Linked DNA regions of Homo sapiens: all the other regions are linked to region 3. Evidence: promoter capture Hi-C in human tissues and cell types (Jung and others, 2019). All regions are on one chromosome and are shown on one strand. The core of a region is centred on a gene start or on the middle of the fragment in contact, and the rest is flanking DNA. Distances in the headings are between cores, read along the strand shown. Region 1 overlaps HAR1A (highly accelerated region 1A). Region 2 has its middle 28 kb from the start of MIR124-3. Region 3 holds the start of SLC17A9 (solute carrier family 17 member 9).

Region 1 (2,700 bases), core at 74-2,573, 150 kb before region 3:
ACAAAATGAGCCCTTAAAACAGTACGACGTGTCGTCTTCCTGTCCTGGAGGTCAGAGCGGGTCTCACTGGGCTAAAATCTTGCTGTCTGCAGGGCTGGCTCCTTCCAGAGCCTCCCGTAGAGAACCTGCTTCCTGCCACCCCACCCTCTGGAGCCGCCCGCATCCCTTGGCTTGTGGCCCCTCCTCCATCCTCACACTGCAGCTCGCTGACCTCTGCTCCCATGGCCTCACTTCCTGCCTCGCTCCTATAAGGAGGAAGGAACATAAATAAAATATATAAATACAGATTACATACAATTAGGTTTATTTTATATGTAAAGAGATTATGGCATAGAATAGAATTATACAGGGATGACCTCCTGGCTCAAGATCCTTAACTCAGTCCCACCTGCAGGGTCCCTGTGCCACGTGGGGGCAGAGTCACGGGGTCTTTAACTCAGTCCCATCTGCAGAGTTCCTGTACCACTTGGGGACAGGGTCACGGGGTCCTGGGATTGGGGCGTGGACACGTTTGGGGGACTGTTGTTGTCCTGCCAACCACAGTTTCTTCGGGTAAGAAAGAGGGGAGCCTCTTGAGGCTTGAGACATGGGGCAGAGATAGCCTCAGCCCTGGAGAACTCAGGGGACACAGGGTGTCCTCTAGGGATCTCGATTAGGATAAGAAGGGGCTGGGCGCCCTGGGGCCACTGTCCAGAGGCCTGTGAGGAGCTCATTCCCTCGACACCAGCAACGAGGCCCCTCCCAACACGGTCCCGCCCATGCCTGGCCCAGCATCCACAGATACACAAACTTCTGGGCATGCCTCCAAAACTGCCAGCAAGTGCAGGCCATCGTCCCTTCCCATGGGAAAGCAAAGGTTATGTGGAAAATATGCTTCTTGTTCGGCCTCCTTGGTCTCTAAGAAAAGCTCGGGCTGCAGGAGAGGTGTGGTTGTTCCTTAGGAAGAAAGACGGAGTGCCCACGGGGCCAGGACCCTCCAGGACCAGGTCTTCCTGTGGTCTCCCCTCCTCCAGGAGCCCCGGAGCCTGGCTCCAGCAAGCCCTTAACCTCCCACAGCCCCTGTTCTGGGTCACCTGCGCCGCCCCTACTGGGCCAGCTGCCCCCACCCTCAGCCCAGCCTTGTGGTCACCAAGCCCGGAAGCCCAGGGAGGTCCGAGCTGCATGGCAGGTGCCTCCTGCAGATTCGGAGAGCGGCTGGGCATGTTTCCTGCCACATCCCCTCCTGACTCTACCCACCCCCACGCCCCAGAGCATAGAGGTCCTCCCTGTGCCCATGTCCCAGTCCAGGTCTCCCAGGGGGATGCAGGAATGAGTTTCTGGAGGGTGTTGGCCAGACTCGGCTTCCTGCACCTTCTGCTGTGCTCCTCCTGAAACACTGACTTGGGCGGGAGCGCAGTGGCGTTCTGTGGGAGGGTGGGGGTGGGGCAGATCCGGGGTTATGTTGTGGCGGAGGTGGGGTTGCCAGGCTGGCCCAGTGCAGAGGAGGGTGTCAGGAAGTGGAACAGGCTGACCCCGTGGGCGTTGAGGCACCGGGCAAGGCATAGGGCCTGTGATTGACAGGAACCCCCAAGTGTTCGATGGGGTCTGACCCGGCCGGGCCGGGTCCACGTGTTATTTGGGTCTAGCGGCCACCAGGCTGAGAGGCCTCAGTCCACAGATGGGGGATCTGAGCTCCCATGCAACATCAGAGGCACACAGCCCACAGTCCCCGAGCGGCCAAGGCTGGCGGGATGGCGGCCACCACATTGAGAGCCGTGGGCCCGGCCAAGACAGGCACAGGCCTGGCGAACCTCTGAGCACTGCAGGAGAGTCAGCACTTCCCAGGAATTTCTATTTTTCAATTTTGCACACTCCAGGGGCTGGCCCAGAGAGACCAGACTGGGAGGTGGCCTCTGCGTGGGCACAGGCCAGGGGTCAGCGGTTGCCTCCTGTTCACACCAGGCCCCTCTTCTGAGTCCTGGGAGGGAGGAACAGAGGGCGGCAGCAATGATCCGTCCACACAGAGAGTGGGCGGGGAGCAGGCCCACCCCGGGGCCAAGACTGTTGGAAGAGGAGTGGTGACATCGGCCAGGAGGAGCGTGTGGCCCCAGGCTCAAGTCCCCGGCATGGCCCAGCGTCCAGCAGGCCTCAGCTGCAGAAGTGCCATCTGCTCCCAGCAGGGTCTGTCCACACTCCTGGAACCCAGGGGAGGTAGGGGCACCACCGCGGGGCTTTCTGAGGGCAGTGCTGCCCTCCCTGCCCCAGCCGCTCTCCCCCAGGGCAGCTCGTGGGCATGTCCCTCTGCCATGGCCTTTCCTGGTAACACCACAGTGGGGCCAGGCAGGGCAGCGGAGTGGCAAAGTCAGAGTCCTCCTTTTCAGGCAGGCTTGCTCCTCTGTCTGCCCTTCACAGGTCAGATTGCGTGGGCAGTGAGTGGCACATGGTGAGGGCTCCTGGGGGGGCAGGGGTGGGAGAAGAGCTGGGGAGGAGGGCACTCAGGGAGCCATTGGCCCCCAATGTCCTGGGAAGCCTGGGGTCTGGATCCTGAGAGCCATGGGGAGCCTCAGAGCAGGGGTCAGCAATGCCTCCAGCAAAGGGCCGGAAAGAATCCAGCTCCGTCTGTAGCCTCCTGGTATGTGCCTGGACACACGAGCAGCCATGGACAATATGAGAAAGAGTGAGCATGGCTATGTCAATAAAACTTTATTTATGGATAGCAAA
Region 2 (2,700 bases), core at 25-2,524, 200 kb before region 3:
GCTCCTTTTAAAACTCGCCCCTAGGTCGCGTCGCTTGGGGGTGATGTGCTTTCGTTTGGAACGCGGGCGGGGGTGTTCCGCGATGCCAGCGCCACCCCCGGGCCCCACCCGGCTCCCTCTGGCTCTCCAGGCGGCTGCAGCTGTTCCGGTGGCACCAGGTGGCTCAGAGGCCTCCTCGGGAGGGTGCTCTCCGAGGGGCCTTGGAGACCCAGCAAACTGTTTTCCTCCCAACTGTTTTTCATGCTGGGATTTTCTCAAGAAACAGGGCCCTGGGGCGTGGCTCTCAGGGAAGCCTGGGTGGACGGCACGGGGCTGGACTTTGAAATCCTTTTCCAGAGAGTACTTGGAGGGGCCTGACCGGCAGCACGGAAGGGATCCTTTTTTAAGGTCCCTGCCTGGAGACCCCTCTCTGCCCAGCGCACCCCCTGCTCCCTGCATCCAGCTGGGCCCAAGGCCTTAGCGGAAGTTTGGGCACAGCTCGTGGGCGGGAGCTGCAGGCCTGAGGGGAGGTTTGGGCACAGCTCGTGGGCGGGAGCTGCAGGCCCGGGGCGATGTTCCCTGCACCACCATCACGTCCCCAGAGCACTTGCCATGGGCCAGGCCACAGGGAAGTCACTGCATGAATCATTCCGAGGGCACCTCCCAGCCACCCCGGTGGGGCTGCGGCACACGCATAGCCACTTCCCAAGGTGGTCACGGACACATCTGTGGGCGCCCCCAAGTGCTGGGCACCAGGGTGCGGGTTTGGGCACAGGGATGAGGAGGTGGGTGGGCCTCAGGTGGCTGCAGGAGAGGAGGTGGGGCTGACGTCCATGACACCCGCACCCCCCACCCCTAAGGCTGCAGGTTGCCCCCGACTCCAGCAGACCCAGGAGAAGACCCTTCGTGTCCTGACCTCGGTGCGGCCCACTCTGCCAGGGGGACGTCAACCTTGGGACCAGGAACCCATTTTCCCAAAGTATCGACACCCCCAACAGGGAAACTTTCCCCTGCTCTGGCTCTGATCAAACCTGGGAAGAAACCTCTGCCAGCCATGTCCCTCTCATCAGGCCAGGCCAGTGTCTGAGGGCTGGAGAGGGGCACCTTGTCTGAGGCTAGAGACGGGGGTCGCTCTGAGACCCAGCCTGGCTGGACTCTGACCTCTCCAAGCACCTTCAAGCTCGCCCGGCCTGTGATCAGCTGGGCGTGGTCTGGGCTGGGGTGCACGTGGGCACAGATGAGGGGTGGGGGCTGGAGCCAGACGCAGCCCCACCTCAGGCCATGGGATCCTGCTCTGATCCCACTGGGAGACCTGGTGGCTTAAAGGGCCCCACGAGGAGCCTCGCAGGGCAAATCCCCTCCCAGATGCTGCACCCACCCGGTTTCCCTGGGGCGTTCTGCTGACCCGCGCTCCCAGCCCCTGCTGACCTGGGTGGGTCTCAGTCTCCCCCCGACCTGCAGCCAACAGCATGGCGACTGCCTCTTTGGCAAGTGCCTCCTCCTGGGACAGCCCTTCCCCACCCTTCCCCGCCCGGGGCTCTGAGTCTCCCCGGGGACTTGCCTGGGTTGCTGTCATTGCACGTGTTTCATCTCCTGGTGGGGAGGGGTCCAGCACCCACCGCCCTCCCAGACGCACAGCCGGGGTCACCGTGTGGGTCCCGCTGCACCACATGCAGCTCGGGGAGGTGTTATTTCTCTAGCCAGAGAAACGACCAGAGAAATCTGCTGCCGTTGGCTGGTGGCCGCATCACTGTCACCCCATCTCACGTGGCTTCTACCTGTGTCTCCGTATCTCCCACTTCTTATAAGGACAGTTACTGAATTTGAGGTCCCCCCAATCCAGTGTCACCCCATCTTAACCGATAACATCTGCAAGGACTCTGCTTCCAACTAGAGCTCCCCTAGCAGTCCTGGGGGTCGGGATTTCAACATTTCAGGCAGACGAGTCAGCCCAGGACAGACAAAAGGAGCTGTGGCTTCTCCCCAAGTCCCCTGTGCCCCTCTTACACACTTCCCTCTCCAGCCTCGAGGGAGCCTCTTTTTCTCATCTTTCCTTGCAAAAACACACCAAACCAAAAATAGCTGCCTTCCTCTGAATCTCTCATGCTTAAGTCTATTTTTAGTTGAGCCTTGTTTGTTCCAGGCCTCTGTCTGGAGGGGACATTTCGGTTGTGGGGGACTCGAGGCAGCCTCGGTCCCAGCAGTCGTGGGCTCATCTGGTTTCTTGTGTGCACTGAGTCGAAGGGACAGGCACGTGCTGGGAACAGCTGTGTGCACTGCAGGCCTGGGCCCAGCTGCAGACCCAGAAACCTCAGGGCGGGTGAGCTGTTGGATCCCTCAGGTCAGTTCTGTGCTGCGTCTGCATGATGTCAAAATGCCCAGACAGGCTGGTGTGGTGGCTCACGCCTGTAGGTCCAGTGCTTTGTAAGCCCTAGGCAGGAGGATTGCTGGAGGCCAGGAGGGAGTTTAAGACCAGCCTGGGCAGCATAGTGAGGCCCTGTCTCTACAAAAAACAAAATATGAATTAGCTGGGTGTGGCGGCACACGCCTGTAGTCCCAGCTACTCAGGAGGCTGAAGTGGGAAGATCATTTGAGCCCAGGAGGTGGAGGCTGCAGTGAGCCGTGATTGTGCCACTGTACTCTAGCCTAGGCAGCAGAGCGAGACCCTCTCTCAAAAACAAACAAACAAACCCAGGTGGAAAGTGAATTATTGTGGCAAAT
Region 3 (2,700 bases), core at 97-2,596:
ATCGAGCCTGGGAGGGACGTAGTGAAGGCGGAGCCACTCAAACCAGCCGCCAGTGAGGAGGCCCTGAATCCCTGGGGAGCTGGCCCTGCCCGGCAGGCCTGGATGAACGTGGGTGGGGGAAGAGGAAGAGAGCAAGGGGCAGGGCCCGCTGAGGGCAGCCCTCCCCTCTAATTGGCGCCTGACAGGGCTGTGATCTGGGCTGCCAGCTTTTCCCATGCAGCCAGCGCTCCCTTCATCTGGGTGCCAACATCCGATGGTGGCACTGCCCCTTTGGGCCTTCCTACAACTCTTCCCAGCACTTCTAGGGTCCTCAGCCCTCATACAGCTGGGAACTGGTGGGGCCAGAAGGTGCCATTACCTTGCCATGGTCAGGGTAGGTACCCTGGGGACTCAGTGCAGGCAGGAGACTGCTCTGGAACCCACAGGGCCTGAGTCTAGGCCCAGGGTCCAGCCACTTAAGGCCTCAGCCCAAGACCCAGAGCCAAGGGGTTCAGCAGTGTGGGGGCTGCTCTCAGGAGCTCCCTGGCAGAGGCCCTCCCCAGCTGACCAATGGCCCGCGGTCACCATCTCGCCCGGTTTCTGAGGCGTCACCTGCCCAGGGAGCCTCCTACAGGCAGCAGTGCTGGTGGCCAGGCGACCTGCCCAGGCCCTGCTTCTCCCCACCACCAAATGCTCCGAGAGCTGAAGCCAGCGGGGAGCTCGTCCTCAGCACACAGCTGGCACGTGGTGGCAGGACCCCCCCCAACCCCGTCCAGCTGCAGGCTCCAGCCCGTGCCCCCTACCTGGCCTCCTGACTGTCCTGGCGCCTGCTTGTCAGGGTCATGCATACACAGGGTGGTTCCACCTGGCGAGGGGTATGCCTCCTGACTGTCCAGGACAATGCCCCTGGCCTGGGGAACATAGCCCTGCCTGGAAGAGCCCCAGGAACACTGGCTGGGATAGGGCACTTGCCAGGTCCGGTCCTGGAATCTCATGGCAGGGAGGAAGGACAGGGCACTCACTTCCTTCCACCTCCCACAAGGAACACAGGGGGCCCCACAGCCAGAGGAGCCCGCCCAGCTCAGCCCTCCCCACCTAGCATCGTCCCACGTGGCAGTATCTCAGCTCCCTCCCCACGGCCCCATCTCCACCGCTCCCACCCCCCCTCCCCTCACCCCCGCCACACCTGGACCACTGGGTGTCCCCGGCCATGTCCCTGCGGGCCTCGTCTGGGGGTGGCTGCATCGGGCTTGGGGTGCTCAGACGGCGTGGGCACAGCTGTGTCCCGGGGCTGCCTCCCAGCCCAGGCTGACCCACCCGGGCAGCACCGCCCAAGTCCACGTGTCAGTCCCAGCGCGCTTCCGTCTGGTTCTCTCAGGACTTGTCGCCCCCAGACGGCCACCAGGGCGGGCAGGCGGGGCAGGGCGGGGCATACCACTCGGGTGCCCGCCCCACCCTGCTGACGTCGGTCCCTGCTGCCCCATAGGAGCGGGGCCAACGGTCGCCCTGGCTGGGTCGCCCTGACTGTCCGACGCGCCCTGGCTCAGCCCCAGCAGAGGTTAGTGTGGGGGCAGAGGGGGATTCCCAGCAGCAGGCCGGTCAGACTGGGGCTTCAGAGAAGGGCCCTGGTGGTAAGCCTGGTCCAAGAGGTGCCAGCCCATCCCTTGGACACGACACGGAGCCATGGGGCCGTCTGTCCTCTGTCTATAAAATGGGGAATGATGGCAGTCCCTGCCTTACCGATCAAATAAAATCAGGGATAAAGTCTTAACCAAGTGCAAAGAGAGTAAAAGTACAGGGTCACTGATTTTTAAAATGGATCTTTCGGGGCAGGGATGGGTCCACTCCTGAGCCCTTGGACCAAGCCTGGGAGAGCTGGACAAATCCAGCGCTGGCCCATGTCTTCTCAGCAGATGCCTGTGAAGGTTGTCATTGGCCCCTGGGTTCCTGGACAAAAGGTGTCCTGAGGACCCATCACAGGCCAGGTTCTGGGCTCGGGGGCAGGGGTGACGGGGTGGGGCCCCCACTCTGTGTGCTCCTGCTGCCATGCCAAGGATGAAGCCAGCAGGGGAAGGCCTCAACCATGCAGCCTTTCCCCAGGAGGCGGCAGGGCCTGCTCCTCAGGCGTTGCCCCCACCTCCACTAGGGCCCACCTCAGTCCATCCTCCACGCAGCAGCCACCACCCAGGGGCCGAGGGAGACACGTCTAAGGCAGGGCCTTGCACTTAGAACAGACCCACATTTACCCCCTCCCTCCCCCTAGCCCTCAGGTCTCCAACAGCCCAACCCACTGCACTGCAGGGCCTGCTCCCAGGGCCCTCTGAACAGAAAGACACGGGCACCCTGAAAAGCAAGGTCATACTTTCATCCATCCTGACGTAGGGTAGGTGAAAAGATGGTGGCAGAGAGAGGTTTATTGCCCCAAACAGCCCTAGCCCATAGCCAGGAAGTTTGGAAACTGTTGCTAAACGTATCGCTGTCAACAGCACCCTCTTTGAGGTGATTCGCTTCCATTCACTCTGTGATGGTGATTTCCTACCGAGATCTGTGATCATGCTGCAGCAGACATTTGCCATCTGGTTACCCAAAGTCCCCTTCCTCCTGGAGCTGATGTTCTGGGGCAGGTAGACAAAAATCAAAGTAGTGAAAGGGGTAGGGAAGGGGTGTTACTTCAAATAGGTTGGGCTGAGGAGGCACCCCTGGACACCTGAGTGAAGGCTG

Evidence for each region. Contacts are between HindIII fragments. The study calls those that stand out against the background at their distance.
Region 1: a fragment that was not itself captured here is called in contact with the fragment with the promoter of SLC17A9 in region 3 in 2 of the 25 tissues and cell types used here (IMR-90 fibroblasts and small bowel).
Region 2: a fragment that was not itself captured here is called in contact with the fragment with the promoter of SLC17A9 in region 3 in 3 of the 25 tissues and cell types used here (dorsolateral prefrontal cortex, heart left ventricle and lymphoblastoid cells).

What each region holds. Positions count from the first base shown.
Region 1 is chr20:63,104,354-63,107,053 of GRCh38, reverse strand. HAR1A (highly accelerated region 1A) reads right to left here. Exons shown (of 2, transcript NR_003244.2): 2 at 2,668-2,700. Among named protein-coding and RNA genes, the nearest start is that of HAR1B, 3.4 kb to the right of the region's middle. The HindIII fragment of the contact is 8,680 bases long and covers 1-2,700 here.
Region 2 is chr20:63,149,264-63,151,963 of GRCh38, reverse strand. No RefSeq gene overlaps it. Among named protein-coding and RNA genes, the nearest start is that of MIR124-3, 28 kb to the left of the region's middle. The HindIII fragment of the contact is 7,630 bases long and covers 1-2,700 here.
Region 3 is chr20:62,951,355-62,954,054 of GRCh38, reverse strand. It overlaps SLC17A9 (solute carrier family 17 member 9), which reads right to left and starts at 1,346. Exons shown (of 13, transcript NM_022082.4): 1 at 1,166-1,346. The coding sequence starts at 1,224. RefSeq lists silencers at 1,126-1,225, 1,236-1,555 and an enhancer at 1,107-1,936. The HindIII fragment of the contact is 20,012 bases long and covers 1-2,700 here.